Linked DNA regions of Homo sapiens: region 2 is linked to region 1. Evidence: promoter capture Hi-C in 16 types of primary human blood cells and fetal thymus (Javierre and others, 2016). All regions are on one chromosome and are shown on one strand. The core of a region is centred on a gene start or on the middle of the fragment in contact, and the rest is flanking DNA. Distances in the headings are between cores, read along the strand shown.

What was found. The method cuts DNA at HindIII sites, captures the fragments that hold promoters and counts their contacts. A CHiCAGO score of 5 or more calls a contact.
Region 2: a contact is called between the fragment with the promoter of MACROH2A1 here and a fragment that was not itself captured in region 1, in 1 of 17 cell types (M2 macrophages). The highest score is 5.9, in M2 macrophages.

Annotation. Positions count from the first base shown.
Region 1 is chr5:135,874,680-135,877,979 of GRCh38, forward strand. The region is part of intron 6 of SLC25A48 (solute carrier family 25 member 48); the gene reads left to right. Among named protein-coding and RNA genes, the nearest start is that of IL9, 20 kb to the right of the region's middle. RefSeq lists an enhancer at 2,879-3,300. The HindIII fragment of the contact is 557 bases long and covers 1,328-1,884 here.
Region 2 is chr5:135,397,776-135,401,075 of GRCh38, forward strand. It overlaps MACROH2A1 (macroH2A.1 histone), which reads right to left and starts at 1,456. Exons shown (of 9, transcript NM_138610.3): 1 at 1,287-1,456. RefSeq lists silencers at 792-851, 1,162-1,331, 1,342-1,801 and enhancers at 1,702-2,207, 2,208-2,713. The HindIII fragment of the contact is 9,460 bases long and covers 1-3,300 here.

The DNA of each region.
Region 1 (3,300 bases), core at 356-2,855:
TTTCCCTGGGCTGTGTCTCCTCTGTTCTTCCTACAGCTCAAGAGCTTAACTTAACACACACCCCTTCCCACCACCTGAAAAGGTGCTGCCCCAGGATAGACCAGACTTCCATGTCTGGTGTCCAAGGTAATACACAGATTCATCACCCTCCGCAGGAACTATCCTGCTGGCTCTTGCTTGCACGGGCTCCTTGCTTTCTTGGTGTGGCTCTTAGAGTCAGCAGACATGGGTTCAAAGTCAGATGTAGCTACTGTGAGCTGGCAGGATCCAAGCAAGCAGCTTCATGTCTCAGGGCCTCAGTTTCTCCCAGAATGATCATCCCTTCCATGAAGGGCGGGGCATTTGTGGGTTAATACAAAAAGCACTCCATTCAATATGTAACCCATAGGGAAGAGTTAACCATTTCTCATTTGCATTAGTATTATCAGTGTTGATTTTTTTAGCACCGGTATTACCCTGGAGCTCTGAGTCTTTTCTCACATGGCTGCCCCACCCCAGGCCCTGCCAGATGAATCTGCCCCATCCTTCCAGGCCCAGTGCAGTCCGCTGCCATTCCCAGGATCCATGTCCTTGGCTTGCTTCTCCTGTACCTCTCTCAAGGGGCTTCTCACACACCACCACGGGCAACAGCTATTTCTATACTGCCCCTTCTCTGCCTCTTACAGCAAGTTTTCTGACGTCCTGTTTTACTCTCTCCCCCAACTTGGGAAAGATCCAGAGTTGGATGACCCAGTGTTGAGGTAAATAACTAACATGCCACATGAGAGGGACAAGATCCAAAAGCTAGATCAAAGGGCCACACTAAAAGACAGAACTACCAGAAGTCACTGTAAAGTCCAGCCCTTAGTATTCAATCATGGATCAATCATCTCTGTAGAGGATGGGGCAATCCGATTTGATGAAGGCTTCTAGGGAAAAATGCCTAAGGGCTTTAGTTTTCAAATGCTTATTTTTAGAGCACCTAGTATGTGGTAGGCACAGTTCTAGGAGCTGGGGACAGAGCAGTAAGCAAAAGAGAAAAAGCCCATTCTCTGATCAGCTAATGTTGGCAGTGAGCGAACAGTGAGACCTGTCCTAAGGTTGCATTAATAGAAGTACAGTGGGTAGAATAAGGGAGGTGGAGGCCTCTGCCCTGACCAGATTGCAGCTGGAATGTTGCATCCACCTTTGGTCACTACCCATTAAGCAAGACCCTAGTGGTGCCCTGGGAATGAAGAGCAGGATATCATAGCATGTGAGGAGAAGCTGGACCCTGGTTAGTATAAGAAGATGTGATACGGAGGAAACTTGAGTTCTGTCTTTATGTTTTAAGGATGGAGAAACTCAAAGCTTTCCTATTCTCATTATTTTAAATTCCTTTTTTAAATTTTTAACAAGAGCTGCTCTGACAGAAGGGTGAAGCCCAGCCCTGGTGCGGCCTCAATTGTCTTTTGTATCTTTTTTTTCTTCTTCTTTTTTTTTTTTTTTTTTTTTTTTTTTTTTAGCAGAAATACAGTTTGTGATTCAGCCAATGAGTATAGAGGGATATAAAAGTGTTTCAAGTGGATGATTCATTTTTATTTGAGATGTTTTTGTCTACTTCCCCAAATATTAATGTGTCATAATTCGTAAAAAGTCTGTAGAGGCAAAATATATTGCTGATATTATTTCCTCTGAAAATTACTGTGCTCTTTTAAAAAAATGAAGTCCTGGAAGTCAGCTGAGGTCAGACGATTGGTTTCTTAATCTCGATAGCGTTTGGTCCTCACTGTTGGTTCAGAGACAGGTTTTAAGTCAAGATAATAATACTCAGCTTGAGTAACCACTGCATGATCAGACGGTTCAAGGTTAATTGTTTAAAATTTGTATTAATCAGTCAAAAATTGGTAATGTATGAACATAGGAAGCTTCCAAAACTACATGAGGATATACTATCTCGATGCCCTGCCTGTGGTCCCTGTCCTCGCTCAAAGGCAATTACCGTAAAGTTTCTTGTGATACATTTCAAAAACATTTACAGTGTATAAAAGAATATATGTGTATGTACATATCTATGTATGCTTGTATATGTGACTGTTTACTTATGAACATAAATAGTAACATAAACAAAAATAATCACACCATCTAAAACAATCAGGTTGTCTCAAAGGCAGTTTTCTGGCAGCCGCAGCAGGAGAAGGTAGAGAGGATTCCTCCAGTGCCCCAGGGGTGGCTCCAGTTCCCAGTTGGCTTGGGCTCTGGCTGAATGGAGCACCCCTCCCCAAGCATTCTTGACTGTGGCTCGCAGAGATAGAGTGCAAGGCCCAAAGCCCATCATCATTCCAATCTGTTCTCACCTTGCTATGGAGGAAGAAGTTTGTGACAGGAAAGAGTTAGAAAGGCATTAATAATGACGATGGTGACCAATTTGAGTAGCTCTTTGTAACCAACTTAGGAATGATCAGTGGTGCAGCCTTTGTGGTGGGGAAAATCAAAAGTCCATGGACTTGTCGAGGCATCCCCAAGTAGAAACAGAAGGAAAGTCTGGTAGTTTTGGAGCCATTCTCTGCCCACTGTTAGGGTCGTCTTGGGCTACATGGACCATAGCTCTGACTTGGAGAGTTGCCATCTGAAATAACCAGGCTGGTGAGCACCTTGGTAATCTTGGCTCCAAGGAAGCAGCTGCTGTGGAGGGGCTGTGGCAGTGAGATGAGGCTGAATGGCAGACAGAGGGGGCATTTGTAGGTAGACAGCTTCTGGAGGCACCAGGGCCAGCTGCCCTGGGTTGCTGTCCCTGGGGAATCTGGAGCCTTCCTGTCACTCCAGGAAACCTGAACTGCAGGCACCAGGACTCTTTCAGTTCAGACGCTCTTCCTTTGTCACGTCCAAAATTCATTTATTCATTCATTCATTTACTCATCCATCCATCCATTCACTGATTCAATTAATGTGTTTATGGAAGGTCTACTCTGGGCGAAGCGCTCGCAGGTGCTGGGGTCTCAGAGGCAAACCATCCACACAGCCCTGCATTCACTGCCCTGATTGTGATTGCTAATCCCACCCCCACCTCTGTTATCTGTCCTTCCTGACAGATAAGTCAGTGACACTTGGAGAACAGTGTGAGGAGTGCTGTGATGGGGAGATACCAAGTGCACAGAAGGTGAGGGGCCATCATCCACCTGGGGGTGGCCATGGGGACACTGCCAGGCTGCAAGCCAGGCCTGGGAAGCACTCCAGGCAGAGGGGACCAGAAGAGGCCCAGTGGAGGAAAAAGGCTGGCCCCTTAAGGGAATGACAGGCTGTTAACCTTCCCAGAGTGTCAGCTGTGAGAGGCCGTCCAGA
Region 2 (3,300 bases), core at 206-2,705, 480 kb before region 1:
GCTAGTAGCCTAAAGGTGGCCTGCAGTAGGTGAATTCCACCTAATTTACAACTCGAGTCTCCCATTCAAACCTAAGACTGTTAAAAAATGCCCGACTCCCTGGAGCAGGGAGCTTTGGAACAAAACACTTCCCTTACCCCCTACTTTAACGGTAAAACCTCAAACCACAAAGGTGGAAGAAAAGAGGGAAGCTAGCAGGAGTGCCCCCTCTAATTGTCTATTCTTATGTGCTGTTTACTGGGTCATTAAAATCTTACAAGGCCTTTATAGTCATTGTAATTGTTGAATTCAAGGTTTGTCCCAGTTGTTTGTACAGAAGTCTCTCACTTTGAAACTCAGAAACATTTCCCCTAACATCTTGTCTAAAAGAACCTTTCAAGCAATGTACTGACCAACTCCTTGAGTGATCTGTGGCCCCTGCAGGAGTGGGGGTAGGGAGCGCCATGTCGCACACCTGTTGTCAGGTGACACTGCCAGCAGCATCCTGCACACTCACCTCCCCACTCCACCCCACCCCCAGCGAGGCTCTTTCCTGCTGGCCTTCTCCACCCGGGGAAGCCTACAGCCTTCCGGAGTTACCTTTTAAAAAAAGCAAACCCTTCCTACCACAAAGCAAACAAAAGGCTGATACCGAGACAATCGGGAGCAGCGGGGGTTCCCGTGGCCCCTCTCCAGCCCATCCTTGGACCACTCCCCAACCCGGTCCCCCGCACCAGCCCGGCTTCAATCCCGCGAGTAGCCCCCGCCTTCCCCTCCCTGCAGATAGCGAGCCAGACGCCTACACCTCGGCCCCCCGGGGCTCGGGCCCGACTTATTGTGCCGGGGCCGGCAACTCGCGGGCCGGCGGGGGCCTCACCAAGTACAACTCTGCTCACAGCAGCTCCCGGGTGCCCAGGCCCAGACTGCCTAGCCAGCGCCGCGGGGCCTCCTGCGGCCTCGGGCCTGGCCCGTGAGCCCGCCCCAGGAAGGGTCGCCAGGGTAGGCGCCAGCACCGCTTTTTTCCCACAAAAGCGCCCAGGCGCGGGCAGGGGGATGCGTTTCGAAGAGAAGTTGGTTTCCAGGTTTCTTTTTTGAACAAAACCAAAGGGAATCCCGCGCGGCCCGACAAGGCCTGGGAGGACGTAGTGCACGCGCGAGGACCCGGCGTGGGCCACACCGAACCCGGCGGCCCGAGCCCGGCCCGCACCACACCGGTGCGCGCCAGGCCGGGCCGCTCCCGGGCACCCGCGGCCGGACCCGAGCGGCGGGGACAGGGAGTGCGGCAAGGGGGCCCGCGCGGCACTTACGCGGCGGCTCGGTGGCGGCGGCGGCAGCTGCAAGGTGTCTCGGCCTGAGCCCTCCTGGCCGCTCGCGCCTTTTCTCTCCGCGCTCCTCGCTGGCCCGCCCGCCTCTTCGCTTCCCGCCCGCGCGGCCCGCGCTCTCCCCCTCCGCCCGGCGCCGCTGCCGAGTGAACTGGAACCAGTCCTCGCGGCCGGCTTCCCACAATGCACAGCGCGCCGCTCGTCACATCCCTTCGCGGCCCCGAGCGTCCGGCCTCCGCGCCCGTGCCGCCCGGCGCCCCGGCCTTGACCCCGGGCCCGCGCCCTACCCGTTGACGCCGGCCGCTCTGCGCCCAGGCACCAGCCCGCACCCCGGACGCGAGGTCTGACCCATGACCCCGGGGACGCCCAGAGCCCAGTCCTTGGGAAGGGCCAGGCCCCTGGAGAGGAGCTTCTTCAGGGCGCGTCCCAGACTCTGCGTCTCGAGTGAACGCCTACTGTGTGCCTGGCTCTGAGCACGGGACTGTCGCTGCCACGGCATCTTTAGGAACCTTCCCACTAACCCAGTGGGAAGGCACAATGGCTGTTACCAGCGATCGCTCTTCCCTCCCCAGTCAATGCCAACTCCCCCCTGCCCCGCCTCAGAGACCCCGCTGTCTTTAGATACAGGCCACCGCCAAGCCCTGGTCTGCCCCAAGATCAATTACTGCGCACCCGGTTCCCCTGGGGTCCTTCAGTTAATCCTCCTCACCCCGAAGTCTGGAACCTGCCTTGCACATGGAAGCGGTTAGCTACTTCGCTTCAGCAAAAGTTCACTTTCGGACCCAAGTTGGGAATTACTAATGTAGACAGTGATTCCTTATCATCACACACGTTTTTTAAAAACTGCGGACAGGCCGAAAGAGGAGGAGCCGCCACAAAGCCCGCCACGTCTTCCTAAATTGGTTTACCGCCTGAAGGCATTGGTGCCCCATCCCGGGTACTTAAATGGGGGCCTGCCCTCTACTCCCCTCCCTCCAAAGTGTGGAGCCGGAAGCCACTTCTCCATCCAGCTGTGAACTAAATTTGGATAATAATACACATCCCTCAGGGTTGATGTGAAGTTTAAAGTGCCGCTACTGGGGATTATGGAGGTAATTAGAGACCCCCACCCCCACCCCCCAGTCCTCAGGCTGCGCGGGAATCGCAGCGGCAGTAACCTCCACCTCACCGGGATGCTTTACACCTTACTTTAAGAGTTTGCAAAACAATGTCCAATACCTGCCATTCATGCATTCGTTAATTCGATTAAGTACTGAGAACGTATTTTGTGTCATACATCGATTTGGGTGCTGGATATGAAACAGCCAAGAGAACAGGCAGAAATCTCTGCCCTCCTGTAGTTTGCAGTCTCGTGGGGGAAAGACAGACAAACGGGAGAATGTGTCAGAGGGTCTCCATGGGGTGGAGAAAAATAAGGCGGAGAAGGGGAATAGGAAGTGTGAGATAAGAGTGAGGCTCAAATACAAGAGAAGGCCTCTATGAGAAAGTAACATTTAAAGCCTGAAGAAATTGAGGGAGCAAGCCGTGTGGATGTCTGGGGAAGAACTGCGCCGAGCATGAGGAATAGCAAGTGCAAAGGCTGGGGTAGGAGTGTGTCCAAAATAGTCAAGACAGAGCGAGTGTGAGGTTGGAGTAGAATGGGTGAAGGGGAAAGTAACAGGAGATGAAGCTGGAAAAATGATGATGCTTATGATGCTTCTGGTCCCAAAACAAAGCATTATGGTTCTATGAGGATCTCCCGAAGAAAAGATGTCAGGAAAGGTGCAGAGACCCTCCCCCACACACCACATTGTTGTTCCATCCTTCTCTGTGCCTTTGGGCAAGGACTCTCCGTTCTGTAGGGACCACCAGGTGGAATTAAAGTCTACACTCCTCCAAGAGCTGATCTTGGGGCGGCCCCACCTCCATGCCCCTCTACAGCGTGCCATTCTCATAGAACACACTAGGACCTTTGTCCTCTGGAGCTGTTCAGTGCAGCAGCTCTGACCTCATCCTTCTC